2 separate regions of the Homo sapiens genome follow, and region 1 is linked to region 2. The links are contacts of gene promoters, found by promoter capture Hi-C in blood cells and fetal thymus (Javierre and others, 2016). All regions are on one chromosome and are shown on one strand. Each heading gives the region's core, a stretch centred on a gene start or on the middle of the fragment in contact. The rest is flanking DNA. Distances are from core to core; before and after follow the strand shown.

Evidence for each region. Contacts are between HindIII fragments. The CHiCAGO score rates a contact against its expected background, and 5 or more counts as called.
Region 1: a contact is called between a fragment that was not itself captured here and the fragment with the promoter of HTR2A-AS1 in region 2, in 8 of 17 cell types (naive B cells, M1 macrophages, megakaryocytes and 5 more). The highest score is 8.7, in naive B cells.

Annotation. Positions count from the first base shown.
Region 1 is chr13:47,745,195-47,750,624 of GRCh38, reverse strand. No RefSeq gene overlaps it. Among named protein-coding and RNA genes, the nearest start is that of LINC00562, 180 kb to the left of the region's middle. The HindIII fragment of the contact is 4,454 bases long and covers 1-3,679 here.
Region 2 is chr13:46,850,742-46,856,393 of GRCh38, reverse strand. It overlaps HTR2A-AS1 (HTR2A antisense RNA 1), which reads right to left and starts at 4,254. Exons shown (of 2, transcript NR_103752.1): 1 at 4,168-4,254; 2 at 95-304. All of the region lies in intron 3 of HTR2A (5-hydroxytryptamine receptor 2A), which reads left to right. RefSeq lists an enhancer at 1,040-1,159. The HindIII fragment of the contact is 4,589 bases long and covers 3,826-5,652 here.

The DNA of each region.
Region 1 (5,430 bases), core at 203-2,702, 900 kb before region 2:
TGAACTATGTAGTCTGAGTTCAAACTCACAACTCAGTTTGCCTGCCTCAAAGACCATGCTCTTAATTTCTTTTTTCTTTTCTTTTTGAGATGGAGTCTCACTCTGTTGCCCAGGCTGGAGTGCAGTGGTGCAATCTTGGCTCACTGCAGCCTCTACCTCCTGGGTTCTAGTGATTCTCCTGCCTCAGCCTCTCGAGTAGCTGGGATTATAGGCGTGTGCCACAATGCCTACCTAATTTTTGTATTTTTAGTAGAGAGGGGGTTTCACCATGTTGGCCAGGATGGTCTCAATCTCTTGACCTCGTGATCCACCCGCCTTGGCCTCCCAAAGTGGTGGGATTACAGGCGTGAGCCACTGCGACCGGCCCATGCCCTTAATTTCTGTACATGTTTCCTCCCTCTGAGAATGAGCACAGGGTAGAGTCTTGCTACCTCTGCCCTGATTTTATGCCCTTTATGTGTTGTGGGTGGTGGAGGGCTAGTGCTCTGATCCTGGATTTTAGCCCAGATAAAGAACTGAGTTTTCTGAGAACACCTCACATTTCCAATAGTTAAGACTTTTATTAAACTTGTAATATTTGGTAACATTTTCTTAAAGTCTTGGTGGTGGTAAACTATCACTTTATAGCCCCAGTTCTTTATATTCCTTCTTGGTTAGGAGACGCAGGCAATTAAAGCAAATTTATGGAAACAGATTTCATACTTAGCCTTGTAACAAAATTTCACCCCAAACTAAAAACAACCACTTAACCATATGGAAGAGCTAATTTAGTTTCAACCCAGCAATTTTGAAATAAGTACTCGTATAATAAAATTTCAATTATAGTAGTTCTTCTCTAGAACTTACTGTGTATATACTTAAAATTTTGTAATCCATGCTATTATGGTTGATTTAATATTCTGTTATTTCCAACTCATATTAAACTCCTTTTTTGTTTTTTTTTTTTTTTTAAAATTTGACTTCTGGATTCACGTCAGTGACTCTGTAACCATGTTTCTTGTTCCTTTCTTTATATAATGGGTAAAGGGGAGATGGCCTTGGGTAGTCTAATTTGTAGCTCTGGCAGTGATGTCTTTTTAACCCCCCAGAATATATTTAAGAAATATGCATGTAAATCATAGTCATATCTAAGGAATAAAAACGATAAAAAGAACAAAGTAGCTGGGGTTGAAACAGAAAAGGCAGACTATCTCTTCCCACTACCCCGTGAATCAGATAGATGGATGTGTCTGTGCTTAGGCGACCCATGGTGAGACAGGCAGGGAGGGGTGGGGGGGGCAGGAGAGAGACAGAGAGAGAGATAGGGAGAGAGACAGAGAGAGAGAGAACTAGAAAAGTTCTTTATTAGTATTTCTACAAGAAATACACTAGATGGTTTGGGGTCAAAACCAGTCGGTTTTATATGTGACCCTCTGCACCCCACTTTTAATGTGTTTTCTCTGCTCAGATGGCATTTAAAAAATCATATAACAGTTTCCTTCTAAAACAGACTTCTGGACTTATTTTTTCCTTTAATCTATACCTGCCAGTTTGGGACAGTATTGCCTTCACTTGATGAAAATCTTTGCTATTAATTGAGGATGTAGCTAATATTTCTGTCATAGACAGCAAGGTGACACAGGATTACTTTTCATATATCTCTCATGCCCGGGGAGAATGAACACAAAGGTTTCCCTTTTCAGCACAAGATAGAAGATTCCTAATTTTAATGTCAGAGTGACACCTTAGCGGAGTTTGTATCTGGTTAAAGGGTTGTAAGTATCAGGATAGCCTGTTCTCCAGTACTTCCCGCATGCCCTCTTCATAAGTGGGACCCCTCATCTCCCTTTATCCATCTCTAGGGTGCTCTGAAGGTAGTCAGTGTTTCCCTGTGCATCTGATTTGATCTTTAAAGACCCACAGCACTAATAGATTTATCTTTTCACATTCAAAGCATTCAGCTTATAATAGTTCCCCATTTCATGACTGATAATTTTGTTGTACAACCTTAAATGACTCCAAGCACTGGTAAGGGCACCCTAATATTTTCCTGTGACTTTACCTAATTTCCAGACTCTGAGCAACAGCCTCCATTACACATATCTCCTTGTTCTTTTGGACAATTACATTATGAACGTAGCAGTCAGGACACAGTCAGGAGACAGAGACCACCACTTGTTTTGTTTTAAAAGAGAGAATTTAATGTAAAGAACGGTTAACTAAGAAATGAAAGGCAAAATGAATGAAGTTATTGTGGAGGGATCAAATGCAGGAAGTAGCTACCACTGTTGGGGCTGGGAGAACAAGGAGAAAAGGTGGGAATTGGAAAACCTTAGAAACATGGAAGAGAGATCTCACGGAGCTGAAACCGAGAATTCTGAGAAGGAGCCATTGCTTAGCAGGTACTTGTTTCTCTGAGCTGAGAGTAGGTTTCCTGGCTTCTAAGGCAGGGACACTGGTTGGCCGGTATTTCTGATGGCATACAATGGGGCTAGATGCACAAGTACCGGGAAAATGCACTGGTTCCGTTGATGCTCTGGGAAGGAGCTGCACCTGCTGGTGTAGAGAAGGAAAGCAGGGTGACACAGGAAGCAAGGAGGAAGGAGCAAATCTCTTCTACCTCCTCTAGCCTTGCAATCTCTGTTTAATTCTCCTGTCGGCAGCACCTGACAAGGAGAAGCTGGCAGGAGAATCACAGGGGAGAGTACAGAGGGTGGGTTTGGCACTGAGAGGCAGTGGCCTATTATCTGGCACACTGAGCTATCACTGTACAAATGCTTGTATTTGCAAAGGATTGTTATTCAAATTCTGTAGTTTCAATGCAGTCAGCATGCCACACATAAAGAATGACTGTGATCAAAGTATTTTATCACTTTCAAGTCATGCTTATAAAATGCTCAATAAATGTATTTTTTTAAAGTGAGAATATTTTACTGAACACAAACGGTTTCATCTGGGGACTACACAACCTTATGTGGTGGTTTTAAAATATGTCCACGAATCTTTCAAAATTGCTCCTTCGAAAGATCGTACCTCATGTCCCTCCCCTTCTTAATTTCCCTCCCCTGGCATGTGCGTAGACTTAGTTATTTGCTTCTAACTCATAGAATGTACTGGAAGTCACAGTATGTGACTTCTGAGGCTGGATCACAACAGGCGCTATTTCTGCCTTGCCTTCTTGGATTGCTTTCAACAGGGGGTCACTCATCACTGTGTTTCAGGACATCCAAGCTGCATGAGGAGAGGCTCACGTAGGGGGAAACCGAGGTTTGCAGCAGCGACTCGCCAGGCGTGTGAGTGAGCCAACCTGGAAGCAGATCCTCCAGTTCCAGTGAAGTGTGTGGATGACATCAGCTCCAGCCTTCATTTTGACCACAACTCATGAGATGCCCTAAGCCAGAACCACCCTTGAAGCTGCTTTTAAATTCCGAAAGTGGAAATAATATATTTTATTGTTTTAAATCACTACATTTTGGGGTAGTGATTTGTTTTGCATGCCATTTGTTATGTTGCAATGGATAACCAATACATCTTGACTTTTGGAAACCATGAGGAGGGATCAATGTTTTAAAAAGATTCATTGTCCTCATTTAGGTAGTCACTATTATTATTTCTTAAGGGAGTATGCCTACCAGGACTATAACATTTCCAAGGAAGTGTTTATGAATACAGCACTGCCATGGATATTTAAAAGCAAGCTTGTGGATTCCACACCAGCTTTGAAATAGAATATCTGGCACCTAGCAGTTAGCATAAGATAAAAGGAATTATTTCCCAAATAAAGCCATATGTTATTGCTATCATCATCATCATCATCACCATCACTGCCATTAAACATCTAGGTGCAGATAATACCCATAATAGTGTCCCTTTGAATGAGAGAAATCAACAAAGGTCCCAAAAGGCAATTGCACAGGTCCTTATTTACTGATTTTTCCTAAATAATCAAATAGATCTTTTACCTTAAATGCAGATAATATCATAATTCATCAAACTAATTTATAATGGTGAACTGCCGCTTAAATATTGTCTTATAAATGATGCCTTTTGAAGTTAAAAGTGATGTTGATTCAATCAATTTTGAAAAAATATCTAGAACATATTAAACAAATGATATTAGAAGTGAAAAAAACTGTCTTCTATTAAGTCTTCTAAGAAAGACAATTATGATAAGTTCCTGGTCAGATAAAAACCATTCCATCATTAAAGGAAATAAAAAGAAGCATAAATAAATTTGAATAGAAATGTATGTATGTTTCTTGGGTTTTGTCCTTCTGTACAAGGCTGGACCTTCAGAGTTAGAATTATATTCTGGTTTTCCCTCTATAAGCAAGAAATGACCTTAATGTGTTAGTGAGACATATTTCTTCACCTATTGACGGTCACTCAGTGCTCTCATGTCTATAAGATCTGTTGTGTCACCTCTGCTGACCTTCTCAGGCATCTCCACAGGAGGATGGGGAAATGCCCATCCTCTTCAAGAGGGCTCGACCCAAGTAAGGAATCAGCTCAGGGCTTTCCTTGCACTGGCTTCCTTCTTTCTAAAGCACTCCAATGCAGAAGGAAAACCCAGCCTGATGAGTCATTATCCAGCCATGATGTCCACCTTAACCTTCCAAACATCACTGATGTGAGGCAGAACCATCACAGACTGGAATGGCTACAGAATCTTTCTGACCCAGTGGATCCACCACTCCTAGACCCTCTCCAACTGACCCCGGTACAGTCAATTATTCTTCCTCCAAGTAATTACTTTCCTCTTGTCTTAAAATCCTTAATATGTATAAGTGTGGTGATGCTTATATTAGTGTGATGTAGCCAGTGTTCCATGGGAACAGACATTTGTGAGTCAAGGCAAGAGCACTGAATATGTAAGCATTGCATTGAAAATGCTACTGTCAACTCAGCCATTAGCTTCACTTTGCAAACTGATTCTCTTTATTGTTACCCATATTGGATGACAGAGGAAAGGGAAGAAATAGAAGGAAGAAGTAAGCCTGTTGTGAGAACTGCCCTCTTCCCTCTCTGCAGGAAATAAAAAATCTTTATCCTTTCATTCCTCTAAGCATGCCAGTTCAGAGTACATTTCAGCAAAGAACTCAAATGTTAAAAAGCCCAGATGACATTTCCAGAACAATACATTATCCAAGTTATAAGCCAGGGACAGACAAGGTGACTAATGGCTGGTAGGTTGGTCATGTGCCCTGGAGAAGTGTAGTAGTCACGATTTAAAGTGATTCCTCCAGGGAAGCCAGCAACCGGATTTTGAAACCTATGATTTACTTTCTACAGAACAAGCCAAACATTGGGCCTTCATACACCAGTTGCATTCCATGCAGCTAGAGGTAGAGCAAGGATGCATTTTCTTTTTTTCCATCCTCCGTTTGGTGGCTCTCAATTTGCTACTTGGGCTGGGAATACTAGCCTCCCTTACATATGTGGATGTCAGAG
Region 2 (5,652 bases), core at 3,005-5,504:
ATGAAGAAACACTTTACATTTTTCTCCCCACTTGCTTTGTTCAGAAAAATAAAAGTAATTAGGTTTATTGAAGTGTCATTAAAAAGATAAAACATTGTACCTAGGTATTTGCATTTATTTCAAATCTTTTCTAAGTGGCATATTAGTTTGATTATAAATCTACGAGGGATTGTTTTGCTTTGTATTGTAATGAATTTTTAGAAATTTAAATTGTGTACTCTTACAAAAGATAGGAGAGCATATTGTCAGCAAGGAAGATGTACTTGAATCTTCTCCACCCACTGTCCAGAGCACTCTTCGTTTTCTAAGATCAACATATAACCAGGGATGAAGCAGGGTAAGGGATTGCTTTATTCTACCTGTTCTGTCCCAAACCCACACTAGGTCTCTAATCTTACTATTTTGGAATGTCAAAGAACACAGCAGTCAGGAAGAAGGTGTAAGTACAAGACAATAGTAGCCAGAGGAGAAAGACCATTTGCTCCAACGCCCAGAGCTGTTTCAGACCTTTGGCACCCTTACTTTTGCGGACCCCACCCACATCATATGTTATACACAATACACCACATTAAACATAACTTTATATGCCCTACTATCAGCTGATCTGGCTAGTGGACATGTTATATTTTAGATATTTAAGTTAAATATTAATTTTGAGATTGAATTTTTGGGGGAGCAGTACTTACTTTTCTCGGTCCTAAAATTTTTGTAGCAAGGTCCTCACCTGCCCTGCTGGCCATCCCACCTTAGGCCTTTTTTAGGGAGGGAAAGCTTTTGGGTTCTGTCTCCAGTTTACATGTTCCCTGGCCACACAGAATGAAGAATGTCCCGGAAGCATAAGGGAAAGCCAATGAGAAAAGCAGCCTGTGTACCCCCCCAGTTGAGAGCACCTTCCCCATCCACCCACACTGAACTGGGAAAGTGGAAATTGAGACAGCTACCCAGTGAGATTGATTTATGTCTCACACAAAGCTCCACCCACCAGAAAATATATTTGACTACATCCTGTGAAACTGCCCCTTCTGAAGGTCATAGTGGTTACATATCAGCCTTTTCACATGTTTCAACCGAAAAACTGAAGGAGTTCCCTTGAGTTTGAGCAATCTATAGTATCACTTCTCCTGGAAGGCAGAGTGAGAGAAAAGGGGGTGTACTGGTTTCCTAGGGCTACTGTAACAAAGAACCTCAAACTTATTGGCTTAAACTGACAGATTTCTTGTGTCACAGTTCCGGAGGTCAGAATTCTGGGAATCAAGGTATTGGCAGGATTGGTTCCTTCTGACCTGTGAAGGAGAGGCTGTTCCATGGCCTCTTCTTAGCTCTGGGGGGACATTAGTCAATTTGGTGTTCCCTGACTTATAGTTCCGTCTCCCAATCTCTGCCTTCATCTTCACATAATGTTATCTCAGCGTACACATGTCCACGTCCAAATTTTTTCTCTTTTTATAAGTTCAGTCGTAGTGGATTAGGGCCCACCCTAATGACCTTACTTAACCTTAACTTGATCATCTACAAAAGAATCTATTTCCAAATAAGATCACATTCACAGCTACTGGGGATCATTTGAGGGGACACAGTTCCACCATAACAGGGTGGGTAGGGATCTGTGATTTCCTGGCCAAAGGCATTATTCTGTTGCTGTTTGGAATGCTATCAAAATATTAATTATGGTATCACATCTCTGTGCCTAGGAGTCTCTGCTGACTTCTGTTATTGGTCGTGTAAGATCTTACAACCCCAGGGCAACTTTCAGCCTCAAAAGAACTGATGTCAGAGCCAGGGCTGGGGATAATGATATTTTGTTCTGATATAGGCTCAAAGTCACTATTTGAAGTCCTGGCTATAAAAATTAGTTCCAGCAGCTTTCACCTAAAGCTGGCCCAAGTCTGAAATGAACCAAATTGCATGAGCTCTATTATGTGCCCCTCTTGTAATATAAAAATCTAATAAAAGTAAATAGCAAAGTCTAATAGATAATCCTAACAGAGGAGCAAGCACTAAGGTGTGGTAGCTGAGGAACACCTAAGCTTGTGCTATTTGTAATGCTGCTTATTAGATACATCGCTGATCCTCCTGTCAACTCCAGTTAATGTTTCTGTCCCATTCAAGTTGAAAATGTTCAAATTCAGCTAATGTCTATGGCATCTCCTGAAAGCCCATCACTGCTGGGCACTTTTCCATTTTATTGCATTTAATCGTCACAACTCAGAGAGGAAACTTGTTTTGTTAGCTAAGAATCAAATCCTAGACTTGACACTAAGTCCACTGTGCTGGTCCCCCTGCTATTTGATAATATTCCAAAGCAAAATACCCATGCTACCGATGACTGGGACCCCCCAGCTCAGTCACTTGGGCTAGTTTTTCCTGTAGTCTTTCAGGATTGGAAGTAGAGTGGAGTTGTCAGGTCCTGTTACAAAAGTAGACTAACTGGAACTGTAGACTTTTTTCTTTAAACCTAACAGAAGGAAAAGATTGGTGAATCAAAAACTAGCATAAAAACTGCAAAAAACCTCTGGGAAAATAGACGGTCATGAAGTCCATATATGGGAAAGAAATGTAGCCCAGAAATTTCTAGGCATATGAAAAGCACAACTGTAAAACTAAGATGTTTTAGATGGAGGAGAGCTGAGAGTGACAGCTGAGAGTCGTAGATGCTGCCTTGGAAGAGTGTCCACGCTACCCTGGACAGGGGCCTGCCTGCCCACCCAGTGACCATGGCAGGGCAGAGAAAAAGCAATGTCAGCCCAGTATCTTCTCCAGCCAGTGGGGTGGCTTCAGGAGAGGGCTGGGACTGGGGATCTCAACCTTAGCAGCACATTAGAATCATCTGGGGAGGTTTAAAACAGCCTGATACACTTGGCCTCACCTGGAATGCACAAAATCAGAATCTCTATGGATTCAATTCACTATCAGTATTTAAGGCTGCCAGGTGATTCCAGTGTGCTGCCAACAACCACTGAGAGCACACAGCAAGGGAAGAGAGCAACCTGCTGGCTTCTGAGCTCTTTCTCCTCCCAGCCCAAGGGTTAGGGGATTGGGAGTCAGAGAAGTGGCCCAGGCAGATGAGTATGGAGGTGTCCAGCAAGATGTGGACAGATGGAGGATCTGGGAGCCCACATTTCAATGCTAGAGGCCATCTGCCCTAAGGTCCACCTTCCCCTTCTTCCTAATCAAGATCACCAGGAGGCGCACAGGCTGTAACCCCTTCTCCTGGTGTACGATATTAATCACGGCATCTTATATCCCCTGAAGGGGATATAAAGTCACAAGAAAAAATTTCTAGGCATATGAGAAGCACAAACTCTATAAGATACTGACAACAAGCAGACCAACTTTTACCTAACAATTCAGAATAATGCACTATATTAAGGAGAAAAAGAAAAATCAGATAAGAATTACCAGGAACTTTATAGGAAAAAAAAAAGCCCTAGAACTATTATAGGACAGACAAGACCTAAGTAGATAAAAATATAACATGTTCAAATTATTGAGATAACTTACCTTTGTTAACTGTAGAACTAAGGTGTTCATTTTCCACCAGATTATCTACAGTTTCAACAGTTTTAATCCAAAAGTTAAAATTTTTTGAGGAGCATGACTAAGTGATTTTAAAATGTTTATGGGAAAACAAAAGTTCATTACACCCATAGCTTGTATGTGGACAGGCCAAGGAAAGAAATCAGGGCTTCTGTCTCCCAGTCTGGTGCTAATTTCACCCCACCTGTCTACAGCCGTGAACTGCATTTTAACAGCACATAAAGAAATATACTGCATGCAATGCCGCTCCTCATATCATAGAACAATTATCTTAATCATAGGAAAGCTTAGAAGTTAACACATCAGTCTGAATGGCATCATAGCTCATCGTTTGTCCCTTTGACAAAGAACTTTTGTAGCGAATGCCACTCCAAACACACAGGGGCTAAGGCAAGGCTGTTACCGCAGTGGGAAGAGGGTAGCACTCTGTGTAAGCAGACGTGGCCAGCCCAGCCGAGAGAGCCCCCCTTTGCTGACTACCTCCAAGAACGTGGACACCTACAGTGCCGCCCAAGCGCCAGAGCGAGTCCCGGCAATGTGTGCCAGCTCCTTAGTGCTGCTGTAGCAATGACTACAAACTGAAATGACACCTCTGCTGTTGGCTTAAAACAACACAAATTTATTACTTACAGTTTTGGAAGTGAAAAGTCCAAAGTTGGTCTCACCAGGCCAAAACCAAGGTGTCAGTAGGGCTGCGTTCTTTCTGGAGGCACTAGGGAAAAAATATGTCACTGGCCCCTCCAGCTTCTAGAAACCACCTACACTCCTTGGCCCACGGTCCTTTTCCTGTTATCTTCCAAGGTAGCCAGTACAGATTGAATCCTGCTCTTATTGAATCACTTTGACCCAACACACCTTCCTCCCTCTTCCACTTTTAAGGAAATCTGTGATTACATTGGGCCCACCTGGATAATCCAGGGCACTCTAATTATTTCCAGCTCAGCTGATTGACATCTTTAATTCCCATCTGCAACTTTAGTTTATCCTTGCCATATAACACAACATATTCACAGCATCCAGGAGTTAGGCGTAGGCATCTTTGGGGACCATTATTCTGCTGATTACAAAATGCATCAGATTCAAACATTTAGCAGGCTAGAGCTAACACCTTCCTTATTACTATCACAAAATGTAGAAAAGCGGTGAATATATCATCGGGAAGTTTGCAGCTTATTTGGCTGGATCCACAACTGCCTTTCATGCCCAGAATGTTGCTAAAAGGAGAGTCTCTCTCCCAGTTACTCTACATCCATCCTGCCCTTGTAAAGCCACCTGGAAAACTGAAGCAATTTTTCAGAAATCCCTGTTTCCATTATATAAATATTCCGTGCGAAAGTGTTCTTTTGGTCTGACTTATTCTAATAAATGCTCCCATTTAACATGCATATGTGTAATCCAGCAAATTAACTTCTCCACAGGATATTAAAGTTAGTGTGTTTTGTGCTGTATGTATCTGTGCATGTACTATGTTTGAACCAGAATATACAATGTATCAAGGAGCTCATTCTTTATCTTTTTCCTGCATTTTCTTATAAACTATTTGGCTGATTAGATTTTTACTGTGACTTTTGTTTCTTATGTCTTTTAAAATTAGAAATTACTGCCATATTCTCTAGAAAAGTACTATCCAGAAGAAATAGAACTATGAAGATATGAAACTGGTTTTACTAGGAAACACACATATACACAGACACATACACACAAGACATAGTGTTTGTACACCCAGGCTCAGTGATTCAGAATCTTTTTTGTGTTGCAGAGTATTGGGATAATTACCTCTTTCCTGAAAAATGTACGTAGTCACATGAACATGAACTTTTGCACTCCTTTTCAAAGGGTTTCTGCCCCATCCTCACCCCCACCCCAGAAATCATCTATAGGTTAATTTGGAGGAAAAACATTCAACATCAGCACAGGTACGGGACACCAATTAGCTGGGAACCATGGAAAGAAAATAAGCATTGTAAGAAATAGCAGAGAAAATTGTAATTTCAAAAAATGTTGATCTTGGCATTGTGCATTAAAGACTTGCAGTAAAACATAACTGGTCCTTAGCATTAAGTTCTTAAAAGATGGTTTCTATAGCCAGTCTTCCCATAGATAGCATGTAAATGG